Regions from separate parts of the Homo sapiens genome. Here regions 1, 3 and 4 are each linked to region 2. Evidence: promoter capture Hi-C in human tissues and cell types (Jung and others, 2019). All regions are on one chromosome and are shown on one strand. Each heading gives the region's core, a stretch centred on a gene start or on the middle of the fragment in contact. The rest is flanking DNA. Distances are from core to core; before and after follow the strand shown. Region 1 overlaps DOCK9 (dedicator of cytokinesis 9). Region 2 holds the start of FARP1 (FERM, ARH/RhoGEF and pleckstrin domain protein 1). Region 3 has its middle 2.7 kb from the start of RAP2A. Region 4 has its middle 78 kb from the start of STK24-AS1.

Region 1 (2,700 bases), core at 139-2,638, 710 kb before region 2:
CACTGGGGATCTTTAGCATCATAGCCTCCAATTGCTCCGCACTGACATTGCAGCTGTGAAAAGTACTTGAAACTGACTTAATCCTTTTTCACTCTTGAATTTTAAGATCCAAATCCACTTTTCATAGGAATTCACCTCGACAGGCTTATTATACTCAGGTTATCTATATTGCCTCCTTTCTTGAAGATTTAAATCCCTGTTCTCTTTTAGGAGTACCTTCCAGGGAAGCCTCATCTTTGAACTGGGTTTACTAGTTTTTTTCTGGCAGCTTTAACAATTCTTTGTTCATCAGGGAGTTTCTAGCTAATTTTAGTCCTGGTGCTTCTCCTTCAAGAGCAAACTCTCCTTACATCTCTGTTAGAAGAATCCTGTTTCCACACATACTGAGAATGTGCCGTCACAGTTTTTTAAATGTCTTTGGATCATGGTGCCTGAGAGTTTTAAAAGTGATTCACTGCCTGGATAAAAACTACTCTGAGATTACATTCATTTTAAAAGGCAAGCGTCCTGAGGCTCAGGGTTTCTTTTTCCACCTACTCAGTGGTACCAAGGGAAGAGGGACGAATTTATCTTCTTTTCATTTTACTCAAGTGTCGTTTAAGGACTTTAAAAGCTATGCACTGGGCCAGGATATTAAATACAAACACATACACAAAGACATAAAAATAGGAACAAACTAAGCATATTGATTTTGATATATTGCATTTCCATCTGTTTGTCTTAAATTAGGACTCTAGTTCTGGAATCAAGCTTGAGACTCTGAGAACTTAGGGCCTAATTTTACTTTACTGAGGACCTCTTTCTCTTGAGTTCTGTGTTCTTTTTCATGACTTCTGTGTTCTTCAAATGCTGTTCTACATTAAATATGAAATATGATTATATTAGAAAAATTATAATTTGGTCATAGCATGTGTTTCTTATCTGAGTACAGAAAAAGGCCATAGTTTTTTCACAGGGTTTTTACCTGTCCCTTGCGACAATCATTCACATGGTTTCTCTCCTGGGGAGACGCAGCCACTGGCTGACAATAAGGCTTAATGAAACCATGTTCAAGCCTTTGCTTCTTTTTTCAAATTCTCCTGGCTCTTCTTTTCTTGATCTTTAATACACTGAATCAGTTTCAGGGATAGCAGTGAATAAATCTGAGTGTTCAACAGAGGGAAGGATTTATGACCTTGATGTCACAGGTCTTCCTTCTAAGGTTAAAGAGTTAAAGACTGACCAGGCACGGTGGCTCATGCCTGTAATCCCAGCACTTTGGGAGGCCGAGGTGGGCAGATCACCTGAGGTCAGGAGTTCGACACCAGCCTGGCCAACATGGTGAAAACCCGTCTCTACTAGAAATACAAAAAAATTAGCCAGGGTTGGTGGCAGTCGCCTGTAATCACAGCTACTTGGGAGGCTGAGGCAGAGGAGTCACTTTCAAATATACTTTTGGTGTAACCTAGAGGCTGGCTATATTTATTTTGTTGTTTATTTATTTTTTAACTTAGAAGTATCCCAGTCCATGGCAGCTCATTTGCCTACTGAGATCTGAAAACAACCAGCCTGTTGTGAAGTGCCAAGTAATGGCATCTTCAGCTTGCGTCTGGGAGAATGTGTGCTCACAGCTGCCAGACACAGAGTCCAAATCTCCTGATGCCATCTGCCAAACCAGCCAGGCCTTTCCGCTGGAGGCACGCCTTTTGGTTCAGCACGGAATGTACAAGTCCAAAGAGTCGTTTTAAATTATGTGATTTATTTAAATCTTATCTAAGCAGGAAGTCAATCTATTACCTTAAAAAATTCCATAGTACCAAGATAGGGAGTGATTTCTGCCTTCAAATACTGTTTTTTTCATGGACATCACAAATTTTATTTCCACATTAGATTTCCTTTCTGCTCATAGTTGTTTATAGCAGATTCCCAGATATTCCCCGTTCACAGCACCCTTAGTGTCACTTTATTTCGTGGCATCCCTAGGCTGAAAGACACACCCAGCAGTTCTCTTTATTAGGTACTTAGGACCAAATAACTTAATAAGTACTTACATCCTAACAATTTAGTAGGCACTTAAAAGAAATAATACACATAAATTTAAAGGAAACAATTAATTTTATTTTTAATAACCACAACTCACTACAAATGGGTGGTGTGTACCTGTTGGACACTGACAGCTTCTCAGCCTTTGGGTCAGATTGGCCAGCACCATTCGCATTTCCTGTCCCTCATTGATTACTTGCCTTTTATCATAGCAGGCCCCCAAATACCCAGCTTCACAAATATGTCTTCAAAAGGAGCATAGCACAACCTGCTGCTGAAACAGCAGCTTCTGGCTGAGGTCACATATCACTGTGTTCTCCTCGAAAATTTAAAATACCCCATGACACCCCTCAGAGTTGGGTAGGCTCCTCAGTGTTTATTACCAGTTTGAATGCTACAAGTTTGTTGTGTGGTTTAATTTTGTGATTTGATAGTTGTAGGTGGATTTATCTTTTAATTTTTTTAAGTCTTCATTCTATCACATTCTGAAACAGGTATGCATTTAGTCTTTAGCGATCAAAGGTGGTTTCTAACAAGTGAATTGATGTTTACATCTGAATGTTTCAGACTAGTTTCTTTTTATCTCATTGTATATGACCTGGTTCTTTAAAGGTGAAGTAATGGAATGCAACTCTTGAGCCAACTTCCTAACAGAAAAAATAAGTGCAATAAAAGCAA
Region 2 (2,847 bases), core at 127-2,626:
CCGGTACTCCCCAGGGCTGGGAGAGACAGGGAGGCCGAGGCTGCTAAACTGTTCCAGATGACAAGCAGGCTCTCCCACGTCTCCACGAACTGATCAGATACCAGGGCCTCGCTTCTTTGTGAGCCTCAGCTCCCTCCTTTCTGGGGAACCCTACTCGATCCCCAACAGCCGCTGGCCTCCAGCTGCCACAAACGAGATCCAGACTCATTACAGGGAATTCGTATTTCCCCCCCTCAAATAAAACACACACACACACACACACACACAGAGTCTCCGGGGTCCAGCCGGATCACACAGCTAAAGTTTCCGGAACTTGAATCGTAAAACCACAATCAGAAGTTGTTTGGAAATACTCGCCGCAAAGCAATCTGTCCTTTGCTTTAAAAAATAAAAAATAAAAAAAACTTTGCCCTGCATAAAGGCAGACAGTAAAGAGAGACACAAATCTAACTTGGGCAGAGGGTGTGTTCCTCTTTGTCACCCGCCGGGAACCCTCGCGCCGCGCGTGGGCGAGCGGCGGGCACCCGGCGGCATCCGCGCCAGCGGCCACCTCCCCGGCCCGCAACCGGCCTCAGGGGCCGAGATTGCGGCCCGAGGTCCGGAAGCGGCGTCCAGCGCTGTCAGCGGGCGGGTAGGACGGAAGGAAACGGGGGAAGGGCGCCGGGGTCGGGGGAGGCGAGCGGGGACCGGCGCGGAGCCCCGCAGCCCGACGTCGGCGGAGGTGAGGGGAGAGGGGCGCAGGGGGCAGCCCGGAGCCCCGAGGCCCCCGAGCTCCTGCGATGGTGGCCGGGGCTGCCCGGGCCCGACCCGCCGCCCGACTGCGCAGGGCAGGACCTCGGGGACCACGCGCCCACCTTCGCCCGCAGCCGCGGCCGTGCGCTGCGGGAGCCTGGACTCGCACAAGTTGCCGCCCGCGGCCCGGACCCCGCCGGCCCCCGCCCTCCCGCCGCGGTCATTGTTCACCGCGCGCCTCCTACCTCCACAGCGCCGGCGGCTGCGGCGGCTCCCTCTCCCGGCTCGGGCTCCGGGATCGGCGGCTCCCAAGCCCCCGGCGGCCGAGGGCGCGGCGGCGCCGGCTATTAATACCCGCGGGCGGCGGCGGCGCGGGCGCGCGAGCAGGGCTGGCGGTGGCCGGCTGAGGTCCGAGCCATCAAAGGTGGCGCGGGGCGGAGGGGAGGGCGGAGCAGGCGGGGTGGGTGGGGAGCGGGCTCCGGGTCGCCATGGCCGCCTCGACGCCGGGGCCAGCGCTACTCGCGCAGGGAGGAGCGGCGCAAAGCGGGCAGCGGCCGCGTCCCCGCCCCGCGCCCCAGCCGAGCGCCCGCACCGCTGCGCCCGCGCCGGACCCGCCGCCTCTGAGGCCGGCGAGCGGGAAGTGCAGTGGCCACCGCCCCTCCCCGGGTCTGGGCCGGCCCCTCGGCGGGGGGAGGCGGGCGCCGCGCAGCCCGAGCAGCGGGGACGCGGGAGAGCCACAGCCCCCTCCAGCGTCCGGGCCCGCGCCCTGCGCCCGCCCCGCCCCGCTCCGCTCCGCCCGGGCAGGTGCGCCCAGGGGCCTCCCGAGCCCAGCGCGCCGCCGGGGATCTGCGCCTCTCTTGGGCTTCCGGCCAGGGCCGGGCTCCGCGCGGCGCTACCTAATGCAGCGCGGGGAGCGCCACTGGCGAGACGCGAATCCAGCAGCTGTGGCGAAAAACGAACCGGGGAGAGCGGGAGACGTGTGCACGGCGAAGCCGGGAGCGGCAGGCGGGCGGTCAGGGGCTCGGACTCTGCAGGTCGCTTTTTGAGGTCCTGCCTGGGGCTGCTTCGCCTGCGACGTCGCGCGGGGAGGACAGTCTTCAGGGACCCACCGAGCCCTCCCCTCCCCCGGAGCCACAGGCACGGGCTTCCGGCACCACCCCGGGCTGCGCGGGACTTAAGCTTGGGGGAGCGGCGGCCACCCCGCGCCCGCCCACGTCCTGGCCCAGCGCCCTCCGCCCGAGCGAATCCCATGACAGTTCCCGCCCGCCCAGCCTCGGGGGACAGTGCCCTTGGGGAATGGCGTGGGGGAGGTTAGGAGTGGCTTGCGGTGCTTGAGAGCCTTCGGGGTTTCGGGAACTCTACGGAGCGGGGAGCAAGATTCAGGACCCAGGAGGCAGCGATCTAGGGGCACAGTCACCGTCCCCACCCAGCAGCTGCCGCGTTACCTTCTCTTCCCCCTTCTGAGCCTCCAGTCCCTCTCTCTAAGCGTGGCGGGAAGAGGCCTAGGGCGCAGCAAGTGACGTTCTGCCAGACCCGGGGCTAGCGGATTCCGGCCTTCGGAGGCCACTGGCTCAGAACCGTGGGCCTTTTGCGTCTTACAGGAGTTCCCTGACCTCAGACCGAGAGGGCAGATTTCACGGGAGAGGCCTCAAGTGAACTCACAGCTGGACAGGAGCTGGGCAGAAGTGGAGTGTAGGGACCCTGATAGAAGGGCGGGTTGAGACAAGAACAGGGGTCTTGGAAGTAGGGGGTGCTTGTGGGCAGCTCCTGGGGAGGAGCAGAGATGTAATACTTGCAGATTTGGTGGTCTGTGGTTGAAGAGAAGAAATGGTGGGTTTGAGGCTTTGCTCTGTCAGCCCAACCAGCTGTGTGTCACAGATCAGATTTTTTTCTGCTCGTGATTCTCTAAGTGTGGTTCTCAGACCACGACCACCACCAGCAGCCCCTGGAAACGTCAAGAAATGAACATTCTTGGGCCGCATCCCCGACCTACCTAATGAAACCTTAGCAAGCATCTGAATCGCCTGCAGGGATAAAGGACTGTCAGGCTCCATCCCCAGAGCTGCCGATTCAGTAGGTTTGGGGTGGGGCCTGAGAGTTTGCATTTCTAACAAA
Region 3 (2,700 bases), core at 107-2,606, 710 kb after region 2:
AATGATGAATTCCACTTTTCACGTCGCCTCCGTGGCATTCTGCCTAAATGATGGGCATGGAAATGGTGCTGAGGGATGTGGGCTGAATCGAGAACACAGGGACTTTTGTCTTCAGGGTGAGAAATGTTCCGGTCCTTAAGGAAACATCGTGCAGCAGTTGCATGGGTCTTCCAGGCGTTCCTCCCAAAACATTATTTTTTTTCTTTCACTATTGAGTTTTAAAACTTAGCGTTCTGTCGCTAGCATTGCATCTTAGTTACACATCCTCTCCCACCCATAACGTCAAATTTAGGAGACGATACATCCCCAAGCTTTCCTGCATTATTTTTTGCAGTAACTGGTTATTCAGTTTACTTTCTTTAAACTATGTCCTTCTCAAACTAGTCTCACCTGTTCGTTACTGTCGCACATTTCCTGCGAATAACACGTTTCTGTAGTTCTGTTGTTAGAGCCTGGCATACCTCTCCCCGTTCCTCTTTCCCACAAGGTCATCATGCAGAGGGGATTTTGGTCTGAGTTAAAAGCCAGGTATTCTTTCACCATCTTTTCTGTCGATAGTCAAACTACTACAAAGACTACTCAAATTTAGTAGTTTCTTATTTCCCTATAGCTTCGTTATATTAGAATGGATAACTTATATTTGCATTACCTTGCTGTAATGAACACACACCAAGTTTTCATTTAAAATTATCAAGGACAAATGTCCTCTGAATTTAAAAATGTGTATGTAGTAAAATATAACTCAGCATTTCTTGATTACATATCATTAAAATATGAATGGTACTATCTGAGCCACCAGAATCAGCAGTGAAGGTATTATATTAATAAAAAGGACTAAGAATCAGGACTGTTTTAAGGGAACTGGAACCGAAGAGGATCTACTATTTCATCCTAGGCTAGTTAACATGAAATAGTGAATTAAAATTGAAAGAGCTTACATGGATGCTTCATATCTGAGCTACTTTGGCAGGGATGTTTCAAGAGGATGTAGGTAAGTATGGTGTTCACCTAGCTTTCCAGAAGTCTCATATTTTGTGTAAAATTGGTATGCTTATTCATGGTTACTTTGGGTTAGTAGAAGCTATACTTCTTTTCCAAGGAAAGACAGACTGTCTTAAGATTCTAACTGTGCATCTTGGTGATAAGAAGTTCTTAGGGTTGTTAAATAGAGCCAGGAAGCGTGAAGCTTTCTCTCTAGATCATGACAACTCATCTAGTACCTTGCATTACAAAGGAGCTCTAAGTCCATTTACTTTGCAAGGAATGAAGTTCCAGTGATTAATGTTTTTGAGAAATTTGTATTGGGATTGTGGGGTCCAGAAGGTTGCCTTAAGTAACTGTTTTCATGACTCCTAGGTCCCTAGATGTTGAGAAGCTCTGGATTGAAGCTGTCACAAAAATAGTGAGTGGGCTCCGTAGTCACTCCATTTAGCATAATACAGAGTAGGACAGCTTTGTGACATTTCTCAGGCTATTTCCCCTGACCTCTCATCAATGCTGACGTTTTTGATAAGAAGGGGTATAGAGACTGCAGCCCTTGGGGTGGTTACAGTTCATTTATTTACAGGCCTTATATTGACAGGCCTCAGATTTCATGCTCAGTACCATAAAGGTTGATTTTTAACCACCAAGAGGCAAAAGAAACATGACAGGTCGGAGCATATTTTCTCACCTATTCTGGCTTAAATGATGGTACTTACCTGATTTGTGGTTGTAGGTGAAATGTTGGGTGAAAGATTAGCTGCTATAAAAAGGATGTCAGGACGTGTAGAGAATTTAGAGGACTTGGGTGGGAGATGGATGTCTATTTTCTAACCCCTTAGTCATGTTCATTCCGATGCCAGCATAAACTCTATTTTGAGATGATTATAGAAATAACTTATATCTTCATTTGTTTGTGGGAAATAAAAAATAAAAATGATATAAAAGAAATTTGAATTATTCCCAAGAGCTGTAAATCTGTAAGATAGTGAAAACTTAACGCAGTAACTGACACTGCAGGATCCCTTTAGTTTCCAAAGTGCATTGCCAGGAGAATAAAAAGAAAGAAAATCTTCATTTCTCCTCTCTCCACTAAATCTGAAAGGGAGTTATCTCACCTATAGCCAGATACCTTCAATTATCGCACTTGTGTTACCGTGGAAACCCAAGTCCATCCTTTCTTTCTGTAAAAGGTGTTGGAAAAGGTGGTATGAAGTGGGAAAGGTACTGTATTCTGGGACTTCCTGACACCAGCAAGAAGCAAATATGCAGATAATTTAATAGAAACAAATTAGTAGAGGATGTTTGTAATGCGAGGGGTACTTTTCGACTGTAAAACCCTGATTCCTAATGCTTCTTATTAAAGCCTGCATGCCTCTGATTAAACATAAAGGGGAAGGGCATGTCAAGTACATTTAGCACCTGTGAAACGCTGCTGGCAAGTATAAGGAGAGCAGACGATGGTTTCTTGACCTGTGAGGCTCCTAATACAGTTGAGAATCTGCAGTATATATGTGGAGTGGAAAGGAAGGGGCAAAATAAACTTTGTTCTTCCTTTAAAAAATGTGATATGTCTCAGTGCTTTTGAAAAGAAAAGGAATTAGAATGCAGAAATTAAGAGTATGGAAACAACTCAATAAAAGAAACGTATGGGTGGAGAGAGTAGATGTTTCAAAAGGCCATTTTAATCAGAAAAAAAATCTGAAAGAAAAGACGTAA
Region 4 (2,700 bases), core at 158-2,657, 510 kb before region 2:
CTCTGCCTTTGGCTTTAGCTATTACCCTATGAGCTCAGGATCCCACCTCCCTTTTCACCACCTTTGCACACAGAATTTCAGGTCCTTCTCTGCCTGAGGATTCATCATGGCAGTGATTCCCATTTGGCATCACCATCCCACATTTTGCTGCCTCTGAACCTTGTCTGCTGTGAAGACTTTCTTGGCATTCAAGGCTTGCATTTATCCCTGGACTTTGATGTTCAATCCTAGCGTGTACGACTTCTGTAACTAAGCCAACATGGCGGCAAATGCCTGTAGTCCCAGATACTTGGGAGGCTGAAGCTGGAGCATGGCTCGAGGTCAGGAGTTCAAGACCAGCCTGGGCAACATAGACAGACTCCCGCCTCTTTAAAAAAAAAAAAAAAAAAAAAAAAAAAGCCGGCACAGGGGCCCACGCTTGTAATCCCAGCACTTTGGGAGGCTGAGGCGGGTGGATCACTAGGTCAGAAGTTCAAGACCAGCCTGGCCAACACAGTGAAACCCCATCTCTACTAAAAACACAAAAATTAACTGGGCCTGGTGGCGGATGCCTGTAATTCCAGCTACTCGGGAGGCTGAGGCAGGAGAATCACTTGAAAGGTGGAGGTTGCAGTGAGCCGAGATCACACCACTGCACTCCAGCCTGGGCAACAGAGCTAGACTCCAACTCAAAAAAAAAAAAAAACACCCAAGACTCCTACCTCTTTAAAACAACAACAACAACAACAACAACAACAGACTCTGTACTCTAGACTTCCCTGTCCAGCCTCAAGTGTGAGTTCCTACACTCCTGGTCGTGGATCTGCCCAAACTTCCTCCTCCTACTTCTCCCCGTGGTCTTCTATCCTCCAACGTGAACAAAGAGTTCATGGACCAGGTCAGGCCTAGAGGCCTCAAAGTCACTGTTAGAATCCCCAAGAGGCAGCCTCACAAGACTCAGGTGATGATGCCAGCTCTCTCCCTAGTCTAGTGGTTTTCAAAGTGTGGTCCCTGGACCAGCAGCATCAGCAGCCTCTGAGAACAACTTAGAAATGCGCCTTCTCAGGCACTGCCACAGCTGTATTGAATCAAACACTCTGCTTTAACCCTCCACACTTGTGCTTTAACGAGTCTCCAGATGATTCTGATATGGAGAGGGGAAGTGCGCAGGGATTTCAAGGAAGGCTTTCCTGACGTCTGTGTGGTTCAGGCTGTCACCCTGAGAATGCACAGCCCTCAGTTGGCCCCCTGGAGCCACAGCCCTGGAATTTGGGGACTATATCAGGAAGTCACTCAAATACCCCAAAACAAGAGTCAAAGATTTCCTGAAACGGGACCTTCAGGGAGACAAACGGGATATGGCTCAAGCCATCCTGCATCCACACCACTTCCAAGCCCGCATGCTCCACTGGAAGCCATCATCTTCCTCCACTCCAGCAAACAGACCACATTGTAATGATCCCAAGGACCACCTGACGCAGACCTGGATGAGAAAAGTTGATCCAGGAAATCCAGGACTAGGGGTAAGGGCCCTAATTTTATTTGTTTATTTTTTTCAAGATGGAGTCTCACTCTGTCGCCCAGGCTGGAATGCCGTGGCTCGATCTTTGCTCACTGCAACCTCTGCCTCCTGGGTTCAAGCAATTCTTGTGCCTCAGCCTCCAGAGTAGCTGGGATTATAGGCGCCCACCACCACGCCTGGCTAATTTTTGTATTTTTAGTGGAGATGGGGTTTCACCATGTTGGCCAGGCTAGTCTCGAAATCCTGACCTCAGGTAATCCGCCTGCCTTAGCCTCCCAAAGTGCTGGGATTATAGGTGTGAGCCACCGCGCCCGGCTATATGTATTTTAATTTCTGTTTGTCTTTATTTTTTCATATATACGTGTGTGTGTGTGTGTGTGTGTGTGTGTGTGTGTGTGTAGTATGTAGGTATGTATGTACTGAGCTCCAAGATACCTGGAAAGATGTAAATTAGAATTAGTTCTAATGTTCTAATCTCAAGTTAATTAAGTATATTACTGCTACTGACTCATGCTCCAGGCACTGTACTTGGAGTTTCGTGGTTGATCCTCAGAACAACCATGTGTGGAAAATATCTATTGATGGAGGGCTGTGGAATGGTGGAAGAGCTGGCCGGCAGTCGGATCAGCTGGGATATCTGTTGATGGAGGGCTGTGGAATGGGGGGAAGAGCTGGCCGGCAGTCGGATCAGCTGGGATATCTGTTGATGGAGGGCTGTGGAATGGGGGGAAGAGCTGGCCGGCAGTCGGATCAGCTGGGATATCTGTTGATGGAGGGCTGTGGAATGGTGGGAAGAGCTGGCCGGCAGTCGGATCAGTGGGGTATCTGTTGATGGAGGGCTGTGGAATGGTGGAAGAGCTGGCCGGCAGTCGGATCAGTGGGGTGTCTGTTGATGGAGGGCTGTGGAATGGTGGGAAGAGCTGGCCGGCAGTCGGATCAGCTGGGATATCTGTTGATGGAGGGCTGTGGAATGGGGGGAAGAGCTGGCCGGCAGTCGGATCAGCTGGGATATCTGTTGATGGAGGGCTGTGGAATGGGGGGAAGAGCTGGCCGGCAGTCGGATCAGCTGGGATAGCTGTTGATGGAGGGCTGTGGAATGGGGGGAAGAACTGGCCAGCAGTCGGATCAGCTAGGTTTGGGTCTAGTTTGCGGCTAATCACAAACTGTTACATGGGAGATATGTAGTACTGAAATTGGGG

The links. Contacts are between HindIII fragments. The study calls those that stand out against the background at their distance.
Region 1: a contact is called between a fragment that was not itself captured here and the fragment with the promoter of FARP1 in region 2, in 1 of the 25 tissues and cell types used here (dorsolateral prefrontal cortex).
Region 3: a fragment that was not itself captured here is called in contact with the fragment with the promoter of FARP1 in region 2 in 1 of the 25 tissues and cell types used here (dorsolateral prefrontal cortex).
Region 4: a contact is called between a fragment that was not itself captured here and the fragment with the promoter of FARP1 in region 2, in 1 of the 25 tissues and cell types used here (mesenchymal stem cells).

What each region holds. Positions count from the first base shown.
Region 1 is chr13:98,856,110-98,858,809 of GRCh38, reverse strand. All of the region lies in intron 33 of DOCK9 (dedicator of cytokinesis 9), which reads left to right. Among named protein-coding and RNA genes, the nearest start is that of DOCK9-AS1, 25 kb to the right of the region's middle. The HindIII fragment of the contact is 8,191 bases long and covers 1-2,700 here.
Region 2 is chr13:98,141,623-98,144,469 of GRCh38, reverse strand. It overlaps FARP1 (FERM, ARH/RhoGEF and pleckstrin domain protein 1), which reads right to left and starts at 1,376. Exons shown (of 27, transcript NM_005766.4): 1 at 978-1,376. It overlaps LOC105370328 (a long non-coding RNA gene), which reads left to right and starts at 560. Exons shown (of 3, transcript XR_931670.4): 1 at 560-631. RefSeq lists silencers at 1,326-1,635, 1,876-1,925. The HindIII fragment of the contact is 5,274 bases long and covers 1-2,847 here.
Region 3 is chr13:97,430,163-97,432,862 of GRCh38, reverse strand. No RefSeq gene overlaps it. Among named protein-coding and RNA genes, the nearest start is that of RAP2A, 2.7 kb to the left of the region's middle. The HindIII fragment of the contact is 3,559 bases long and covers 1-2,700 here.
Region 4 is chr13:98,653,837-98,656,536 of GRCh38, reverse strand. No RefSeq gene overlaps it. Among named protein-coding and RNA genes, the nearest start is that of STK24-AS1, 78 kb to the right of the region's middle. The HindIII fragment of the contact is 8,885 bases long and covers 1-2,700 here.